2 separate regions of the Homo sapiens genome follow, and region 1 is linked to region 2. Evidence: promoter capture Hi-C in 16 types of primary human blood cells and fetal thymus (Javierre and others, 2016). All regions are on one chromosome and are shown on one strand. The core of a region is centred on a gene start or on the middle of the fragment in contact, and the rest is flanking DNA. Distances in the headings are between cores, read along the strand shown.

The links. Contacts are between HindIII fragments. The CHiCAGO score rates a contact against its expected background, and 5 or more counts as called.
Region 1: a contact is called between a fragment that was not itself captured here and the fragment with the promoter of SHROOM3-AS1 in region 2, in 1 of 17 cell types (M1 macrophages). The highest score is 5.2, in M1 macrophages.

The regions. Positions count from the first base shown.
Region 1 is chr4:76,548,120-76,553,337 of GRCh38, reverse strand. The region is part of intron 1 of SHROOM3 (shroom family member 3); the gene reads right to left. Among named protein-coding and RNA genes, the nearest start is that of MIR4450, 23 kb to the left of the region's middle. The HindIII fragment of the contact is 1,537 bases long and covers 2,773-4,309 here.
Region 2 is chr4:76,799,623-76,805,024 of GRCh38, reverse strand. It overlaps SHROOM3-AS1 (SHROOM3 antisense RNA 1), which reads left to right and starts at 2,562. Exons shown (of 3, transcript NR_187405.1): 1 at 2,562-2,968. RefSeq lists an enhancer at 2,987-3,777. The HindIII fragment of the contact is 9,780 bases long and covers 1-5,402 here.

The DNA.
Region 1 (5,218 bases), core at 2,292-4,791, 250 kb after region 2:
TGCCACTGCACTTCAGCCTGGGTGATAGAGCGAGACCCCGTCTCAAAAAAAATAAATAAATAAAAGAGAAAAGAAAAGAAACCAGGAGGTGGAGGTGCAGTGGGCCGAGATTGCATCACTGCTCTCCACTCCAGTCCAGCCTAGGCGACAGAGCGAGACTCTGTCTCAAAACAAAACAAAACAAAACAAAAATGTCCTGCACTATTATTCAGTCAACAAAGTTATTCAACACCTGCTTTACATCAGAAATTTTTCCAAGTGCTTGGGCTATAAAAGTGGACAAAATAGACAAAAACCTTTTGATCTTCTGATGCTTAAGTTAATGGGCAGAGGAGGGGAAGCAAACAATAAACATAATAAACAAGTAAGTAATGTAGTACGTTAGAAATTAATCATATGCTTTGGAAACAGGAAAATAAGGCTCGATCTGGGTCACATGCCAATGGATACTTATAGACGTCAATAACAATGAAAGGGAAGTAAAGGGGAAAACAAAAACAAAACCTGAGTAAACAAAACCTCACCCATATTTTCTCTTTTTTTAGTAATTACTCTCCAGAATTGCCCACATGTTCAAAAACCTTCAATAGGTCTCAAGATACATAAAATAGACCAAGCAATTATATATATACATATATTACATATACAAATTATATGCAGACATAGCTACATACATATATAGATATCTATATATATGTATATGTATATAGCAAACATAATGAGGAATGTATATGTATATAGATATATGTATATACATATATAATTGCTTGGTATGTCTATATACATATATTATATAATTGATATATCTATATACATATATAGATATTTTGGGAGACAGACTCTTGCTCTGGTGCACAGGCTGGAGTGCAGTGGCACAGTCTTGGCTCACTGCAACCTCAGCCTCCTGGGTTCAAGCAATTCTCCCATCTCAGCCTTTTGAGTAGCTAGGACTATAGGCGTGTGCCAACAGGTCTGGCTAATTTTTGTATTTTTTGTAGAGATGGGCTTTTGCTGTGTTGCCTGGGCTGGTCTTGAACTCCTGGGCTCAAGTGATCCTCCCACTTTGGCCTCCCAAAGTGGTGAGATTACAGGCATGAGCCACTGTGCCTGGCCAATATATACTATTTTAATATATATAAAATAGCTTTTATTTTATAAATAACAATTAAAAATTTAGGCCAGGCGCAGTGGCTCATGCCTGTAATCCCAGCAATTTAGGGGGGCCGAGGCGGGCGGATCACAAGGTCAGGAGATCGAGTCCATCCTGGCTAACACGGTGAAACCCCGTCTCTACTAAAGATACAAAAAATTAGCCGGGCGTGATGGCGGGCGCCTGTAGTCCCAGCTACTCGGGAGGCTGAGGCAGGAGAATGGCGTGAACCCAGGAGGCAGAGCTTGCAGTGAGCCGAGATCGCACCACTGCACTCCAGCCTGGGTGACAGAGCGAGACTCTGTCTCAAAAAAAAATAATAATAATAATTCTTCTTTTTCCCATTTTCAGATAATCAAGTGGACAAAATAATATATAAATGTAAAGTGACATCTAATAGTTTATTATTTTTATACTGCTTGAACTTGCTGCTGTGGTTACACACCCTGAATTTCAGCAAAGCTATTTATGTCTATGTCTGTTCCCCACTCACAGTCCCACCCCTCCCCACCTTGGACTGTGAAGTTATTGAAGAGACTTCATGAGAAATCATGACTCCATCCTTTCCTCCCCCAGCATGCCTCTCCAGAGCTTTGCACACAGGACCTACTCAGAAAATATTGGTTCGTTCATTCAATAAATATTTATGAACAGCCACTACTGTGGTCAGCTATGGTGCTAAAAGCTGCGAGTACAGTGATGAACACTGTAGATACGGTCTTGCTCATGTTGCAGTTTGTGAAATTGCATCCCTTCAGTATTATTTGCCAACAATTTCAACGAAATGAGACCTAGGAAACAATCAATTTCTTATATTAAAAAAGGAAGTCAAGAAAGCTCATTTGTATAGTTTATATCATGTCCTCATGACTGATTTGATGTGAAAGCAAACATTATGGGGAAGACTGTCATAAAGAGTTTCATTGTTGTTCACTGTTCTTATAAACTATTTCTTTAACCTTTTGTATTTACAGAGTTCCTCACAATCTCTTCGTTTTGCACTGCACTTTTAGAATTAGCCGGATGTGGTGGCACATGCCTGTGGTCTCAGCTATGCAGGAGGCTGAGGTGGGAGGATCGCTTGGGCCCAGGAGGTTGAGGTTGCAGTGAGCCAAGATTGCACCATTTCATTCCAGTCTGGGCAACAGAGGGAGACCCTGTCTCGAAAAAAAATTCATCCTAGCCCCCAAGTGAGGGTTCTCTCTCTGCTGCTCAAGCTGGAGTGCAGTGGTGTGATCTCAACTCACTGTAGCCTCAAACTCCTGGACCCAAGCAATCCTCCCACCTCAGCCTCCTCAGTAGCTGGGATCACAGGCATGTGCCACCATGCCTGGGGAAATTTTTTTATTTTTTGTGGAGACAGGTCTCACTATGTTGCCTAGGCTGGTCTTGAACTCCTGAACTCAAGCAAGCCTCCCGCTTCAGCCTCCCAAAGTTCTGGGATTACAGATGAAAGCCACTGCACCTGGCCATGGGATGACGTTTTTGAAATGGCACTTATTTGTCAAACATTTCATGGGCCCCTACTTCATGTTTTGATTCTCACATCTCTCCATACTGTCTCTCAGGGATTTGTGCTGTCTTGGGGTTTTAATTATTACCAAAGAAGATTTTTAGAAGCTTTCTTCAACAGTGATCTTTTGTAGAAGGCCCATCCCACATTTCTAGTTTCCTTTTCCTCCTTTTTTCCTCCAAATACTCTTCCATTATGAAATGTCTCCTTATCAACCCAGGCAGAATCTATTTCATCCTCTCCTCTTAATGGTTTCTGTCTTAAGACAAGCCTCAGTCACTACCTTTGTCATAGGTATTTCTGACCATGCCCTATCTGCTCTTCTAGGTCCTAAACTCTTTGAGGTCAGAAACTTGGTGAACACATTCATTCTTTCATTCATCTCACAAGTATTTTTTAAGCATCTATCATTGGCAGGCATAATTCTAGGGCTGGGAAAATATCAACAAAGGAAACACGGTGTTCTCTCCTTTCCCAGAGTTTATATTCTAGTATACTTTTAATATATTTCATATCATTGTACTTAAAAAACATGCACATTCACTGGGACATGTCAGAGAGCCTATACTGATAAAAAAAAATTAAAACGCACACACAAAAAATTAGGCTGGATTCTTTCTGTGCTTAAATTGATCCATTTAAACAACACTCCCTCAGAGGTCAGCCAATTTCCAGCAAGTCAAAGGAGCCCTGGGAAGTTTGCTTGGTGCCAGGATTCCTCCAGAGGATCCACTCCTAAAGGTGGAGTCCCAGTAGGTCCAAGGGAGGACTTGAATTGAGCCAGCTGGGGGCCAAGTGTAGACTCTTAGTCTAACTCATTTCAGTTAACTGGATTAAGGGATGCTCCATCAGCCTGTGGATTCCTTAGGACCCTCACATTCCCCTCCTCCCTCTTTGTTGCTGCTGGCCCTTTCCTGACCTTTCTATTTGGTAGCATCAGTGTCTGTGGATGTGATATTTGTTGGCCACTCCTACAATAAACTTGGTTGCCAAGAAAGTTGAAGCCACTGCCGGGCGCAGTGGCTCACACCTATAATCCCAGCACTTTGGGAGGCCAAGGCAGGCAGATCACAAGGTCAGGAGTTCGAGACCAGCCTGACCAACATGGTGAAACCCCGTCTCTACTAAAATTACAAAAATTAGGCGGGCATGGTGGCACGCACCTGTAATCCTAGCTACTCAGGAGGCTGAGGTAGAAGAATCATTTGAACCCAGGAGGCACAGGTTGCAGTGAGCCAAGATCGCTCCACTGCACTCCAGCCCGGGCAACAGAGCGAGACGCCATCTCAAAAAAAAAAAGGAAAGAAAGTTGAAGCCATTGGCTAGAACAAGGCTGTGAATTACCTTAATCTATGGTGTTGTCTCCATTTATTATCATGAATGATAAATTAAGATATTGAGGTGCATTTGTTGATGCACTGGTAACAACACATTTGATTGTACTGAGGCTAACTAAATGCATACATCGTAAGTTTGTACCAATTATCCACACAATTTATCTTAAAAACATTATTATGACTAAAAAAACCTTGTTTACAAAAAGTTTAACAGTAATTTTTTTGAACTATTCATCAGGGATTTAGACTCTTCTAACTCCAAGCCCTGCTGATACTCTCTGTCAACAAGATTCAGTGGAAAATGAAGCTTATTATTTTAAACTTTTGGACCAATTACTTCAGCAGCTAAAAAGGTTACTGGCATTGTTTGTCCAAGTTCACCTGCATGGAACTTACTTATTCCAAGAATGCGACTGTCAACAGGTTAAATGACTTCAGATAACACACCGTGTGCAACTGGGTGGGAAATCCCTAAGCTAACAAGCTAAGGAGAGGGTGTATATCCGCACATTGGAGCCCGGAAGCTAAGCACGCTTTTTCCCTTCTCAAATCCTAAATATACCCACACCTATAGGAGAAGTCGACTTTGCTTTGATGACACAGTGTTACTTTTCTGACATAAGAGGCGTTGATTTTTTAATTGTTTACAGCCTTTTATGTCACTGTACTATTTAGCACCTAACATAGTGCCTGCACGTAATGAGTGATCGGTAAACATTTATTGAACAAATACTGGGGAAACTGACTTTGAAGAACAGCACGGTGATATACACTGTGATGAGAGTACATTCAAAAATACAGGTGTAGGCACAAAGGAAGAGTGGTGGATGCCTATGTCACAGCTTGACGTGGTGCTTTGAGGCACAGAAAGCCAGGCCCATCTCTTTTCCTCATGCTTAACCACTCTAGCCCAGTCTAAGTGAGAAAGGGTGGAGCTGCTGTTATGGGGATTGGTCCTGTGTTGTGCTTCTCCAGGGTTTGTGCCCTCCCTGTGACCCTCCTCATCACACTTAGAAGAGAAACCGCAGTCCTCCCTCTGTACCAAAGGCCCTGCCGTGCTGGATTTGACCTCCCTGCTGCTTCACTTCTTAGTGTTCTCCACTGGATCACTCAATACCAGCCCCTGGCCTTCCAGCGGCACAGGGAGCATGGCAGGCACTGTCTTCCTTCAGGGGCCTTAGACTTGCTGTTCCCTCAGCCTGGAATGCTTTTCCCCCA
Region 2 (5,402 bases), core at 1,313-3,812:
TAGCTAGTTGAGCCAAGACAAGAAGAGCAATATGTGGGCCACAAGGTTCTTCAGGGGGAAATGGACATCAGAGGTTTTGACTGGGGTCCCAAATTCACAAGGAGCTTCATATTTAGACTTACATGACATCTTTAGTTACATTGTTTTGTGAGTGTGTGTTAAGGGACAATTTTTTAGTGTAAACACCTAAGATATTCTACAGTTTGTGTGACTTTTTGGCATTTATCAAAATTTTTTTTAAAAAGCGGTTCCGGGATCCTCTGTAAAAAGAAGTGGCTTGAGGTGCTCTTGACCGCTAGAAGACTCTGATAGAGGTTAGGTTAAAAACAAGCAGCACTTCTCAATTTTGGCCAAGATTTTCTTCACTACTAGCTCCTGGCTGAAGCTGATTGAAATAGCGTCAAGGATAAAATTGGGTTCAAGAGTGGCAAAAATGGAAAAAGAAAAAAAAAAGACCCAGAAGCCAATTAAATAAGGTGGTTGGAAAGGCAGGAAGGGAAGCAAAAAGGAAAAAATAAGAGATAAAGATAGGGTGGAGCACACTGCGAAGAGACCTGGCCGAGAGGAGAGGAGCAGTGTTCTCTTGGGGTCCACAAAAGGAAGTCTGGACTTAATTTTATTTAATCCAAGTGCTTTTGGCTTTCTTAGAAAGCAGGAAGCCAAGGCACAAAAAGTCAGGATCTTGATAATTAAATTTTTTTAAACCGGAAAGCAAATACCAGGATTTTCCCTAGAGACACACTCACCACAGGACACATGGGCGAGGGAGAGCCTGAATTGCTGTTTCTTATATAAACATTAAAACCCAAGGCTTTCCATCTGTCCCCACCCCTCACCCCCAATCCCCAACTGGTAGCTGTGAGAGTCCTCAATGAGACTCCTAGGAGGGCTTCCCACCGTCTGGGGCCACTCTGCTTCTCTGTAAGGGGGAAAACAATGAGAGGAATTCAGGGTTCCCTACTAGGCTGGCGCTGACCCACGATGGGGAAGCAGCCTCTTGGCGAAGAAAGGAGGAAGAAAGAAGAATTGCTGACTTGATTCCCCTCCCTCCCAAGGAACCCGGGAGGAGGGCATTGAGAAGTTGGTAGCATCCTGGAGAAAGGGTGGCCTTTGTGAAAAGTGCAGGCTCCACTGGATGCTTGAAATGACTGCTCCTGCCACCCTTTCTAAGGTCTCCTCCAGAAGGAGGGAGGAGCGCAGTGAGAGTGGGATGAGGACTTACTTCATCACACAAGGAAGGCTGGTGAACCAGTGACCACTGGGTGAAGAAAGAGAACTAGGGTCTGGAGAAGAGCCAATCGAGAAAGCCTGTGGGGCGGCTCATTAATGAGCTCATCCATCCAGGCAGGTTAAATTGCAGGCAACTGGGTTGCCCAGGAAGCAGCTGAAGTTTAGAGACTAAACAATATGCAATCACGATAATTTCCTCTGCCTGTGACTCATCTCGGAGGGTGTCCAGGTGATGGTGCAAAGATAGACTGAGAAAGAAGGCCTTTCTTTTCTAATAGCAAATGCAGAGAGAGCAGGAGCAATATTGTCAGGAATGCATTTCTCAGAAATCTAAAGAAGTGTTTTGTCACTTTATTTATAACATTTCAAAACTATTTTTGACTCGCACTACCTAATTACTTTGATTTTAGGTAGTGCAAAGCTCTTTGTAATACATAATAAACACACGCTTCCTCCCGCACCCCACTTAGGGAGAAAACAGAATGTTGGGCTTTTGCAGCCTGACAAGTTTATGTAACAAGCAGCATCCTTTTTGCTGTTTATGCATGAAGGGAAGCCATGGGAAAAATGGATGAAGTGTGGAATTCCAAGATTTTAATAAATATCAAACACAAGAAAAACTCTCCACTTGGTTGGGATGAATCGTGTTCTTCGTCAACTGCCTGTTAAAGCATTTTGATTCCATCTCAGGGAGGAGGAGGGAGGCAAGAAGGAGGAAAGAAACATCTTCAGGGTGCTCTTAGCAATGCATTCTTGCTTCCCGGCCCATGGCCTCTTTTCTCCTTAGAACTGTTTTTATCTTTTTTGGAGAACAAAGCCTCTTTCAACATTCCTTAGCTTACAGATGGGTAATGAGGCAAGAAGGAGGTGAAGTATCCTCACCGGCACCCAATATGAACCCAGTTCTCAAGTCCACTTATTTTTTTTAAACCTCACTGTCTCTGTTGTAGGGTTAATTCTCCTCCCGCCGCCTCTCTCAGGCCACTTCCCCTCCCCTCCCTGTGTATTTGCAGTCACAGAGCTCGTCTCAGAGGGGAGAGGAGAAGAGCTATTTGATCCTGGCCTCATGTCCATCAGGGGCCTCACATACGGCCTTTAGGCCTTATCTCCAGATGAGCTTATGCAGGCAGTCATTACAGTTGCATGCGTGTAAACAACACTGGTAATCAAGGCGGAGCTTTAAAATACAGCACAATTACAACTTTTTGTAGCTGTTTGGCATGTCTTCATTTAAAAAATACATTTAGGGCTTCAAAAGAAGTGGCTCAGGCCTCTTTCACCCGAGAAGCCTTGCGTGCACTGTTAGCAAACTCACACAAGTGAAGAGGGACCTTTCTTTGCTACACAGCGTCCTCCGTGGCGAGCTGGAGGGAAGCGCTCTCAGCAGAGAGGGTCGCCCTCACCAAGAAGCCAAAGGGAAGAGGACAGAATCTATCTTGTAGGGACGCCCTTGGTCTTCAGAAGGAACACTTTTTCTGTTTCACAGAGATCTGTGGAATGTGTGGGTTCCCTGAAGAGGTGGACGGACCCCCGGGGTCGCGCGTTTTCTCAGCCCTGGGCCCGTAGCGGAGCTCGATCCTTCCAGAGCTCAGGGCCAGAAATGTTGCGATTCCGAACACTTTGCCTTTCTTCTGAGAGGAGCCGCCCGGCAGACGCTCATCATTAAGAAGCAACGTAATTAACAACGAATGTTTCCCCTTGGCGCTAATGCGAACACCCTGGGGAACTGCCAAGTCTGGTAGGGGAATCGCAGCCGGGGGTGTCTGGGGGAAGCCAGCGTGGGCGGGCGCGGTGGGCCTGGGATTGCTTTTAGGCGCAGCAGCAAGGAGGGCGAGGGCGAGTGGAACAGAGGTCGGAGACCTTGCTAAGCTGCTGGCCTTTTCACGTTTCGGACCCTGAGAGTAAGCTGAGAGAATGGATGGGGTCAAGGCTGGGACAGGCTGTTGGCTACTGCCGGTGGGAGGGAATCCGGGCGGGAGACTGAGACCGGGCGGAAAGGAGGGAGACAGAGCACTCCCTCTAGGCGCTGAGGTCCGACACCCGCTTGATTTGTCAGTGCCGCCAACAGCCCTCCTCCTGTTGTCAGCAAGGACAGTCGGTAGGGCCTGCTGAGGGCCAGGCACAGTGCAGGGGCGAGCGCCCAAAGGTAGGGATCAGCCGCTGGTCTCTGTGCCCAGGGGTTCAAGGCCTGGGAGGAGACAGGCTTTGAAGACTTATAAAACAGTTGTGGGTGCTAATTTAGACATATTCCAGACATAGTCACAGGGCAGTCCCGACCAGAGGAGTTTAAGTCAGTGTTGTTACAATGCTTTATTTAATTAATATTATTTTTGGAAGGCTGTGTGCACCTGGAGGAGGCCAGCGGCTGTGTCTGTTTTGTTCACTGCTCTATCACTCCCACCTGGGATAACTCTTGGCAAATATGATGACAGCACCCATTGACGAGGTGCTTAAGATATATAAGGTTGGTGCAAAGTATTTATACGGTGCACCATATAAATACTTTATATTTGGCAGTCATCTGATCCTCAGCATAGCCTCGAGAGAGATTAGCCCCATTTTACAGATTATCAAACTAAGGCAAAGGATAATAGTGAATCTGGGTCTGAATGTAGTCCGTCTGGCTACAAAACCTGTGTTTTAAAATCATAGGCATAAATTGACTCAGAACTTGAAGAATGACTAGGAGACCAGGAGGGGTTGGGTCGGGGGAATTTTTGCTTTTATTTTCATAGTTTTGCTTCTCAGGTGTTGAGAGTAGTGCACCCTAAAAGTCCCGCTCATGTTTTGGTTGCCTGTGCTTGAGGGATATTACTCAAGAAACCTTTGCCCAGTCCAATGTCCTGGAGCGTTTTCCCATTGTTTTCTTGTAGTAGTTTCATAGTTCGAGGTCTTAGATTTAACTATTTAATCCATTTTGATTTGATTTTTGTATATAGTGACATGGGGTCTAGTTTCATTCTTCTACATATGGATATCCAGTTTCCCCAGCACCATTTATTGAAGAGATTGTCCTTTCCCCAATGTATGTTCTTGGCACCTTTGTTGAAAATGAATTCACTGTAGATGTATGAATTTATTTCTGGGTTCTCCATTCTGCTCCATTGGTCTATGGGTCTGTTTTCATGCCAATACTGTGCTGTTTTGGTTATAATAACTGTGTAGCACAATTTGAAGTCAGGTAATGTTCCTCCAGTTTCATTCTTTTTGTTCAGAATAGCTTTGGCTCTTTTGGATCTTTTGTGGTTGCATATACATTTTAGAATTTTTTTTTTCTATTTCTATGAAGAATGTCAATGGTATTTTTATAGAGATTGCAGTGACTCTCTAGAGTGCTTTGGGTAGTATGGACATTTTAACAATATTGATCTAGTCCATGAACATGGAATGTCTTTCAATGTTTTTGTGTCCTCTTCAATTTCTTGCATCAGTGTTTTATAGTTTTCATCATAGAGATGTTTCATTTTTTGATTAATTCCTATTTTATGTGTACCTATTGTGAGATTACTTTCTTGATTTCTTTTTCAGATAGTTCAGTGTTGACATATGGAAATGCTACTGATTTGTGTAGATTTTGTATCCTTCAACTTGACTGAATTTATCAGCTCTAATAGTTTTTTGGTGGAGTCTTTAGGTTTTTCCAAATATAAGATTTTATCACCAGCAAATAAGGATAATATGACTTCTTTCTATTTGGATGCTCTTTCTTTTGTCTTTCTTCCTTCCCTCCTTCCCTCCTTCCTTCCTCCCTTCCTTTGCTCTTTTCTGCCACTCATGTTTTATATTCACTGAGGTTCAACAGGTTTTGGCCCAATTGCCTGTCTCAATTCTGAAGTAAGCATCTCAGGCACTATTGTTCATGATGCAATGAGTGAACAAATGAGTGAACAATGAGAGGCATTGTTCATGATGCAATGCATTTGTTCATGATGCAATGAGAGGCAATGAGTGAACAAAAAGGGGAAAACTTGGTTCTATCCCTGTACAGAATTATATACAGTGTGAAAGCTAAGAGATGGGGCCATATGCAGTTGGGCAAATGTAAACCAAGTAAAGTTTATTTTTGCTGCCCTGTGGAATTGTACATTCTCTCATCTAGGTCTTTTTAATCTCTTAGATACCTAGCTGCTTTCTTTTTGTCTAGACCTGTACGGTACTTAGGAAAAGAACTG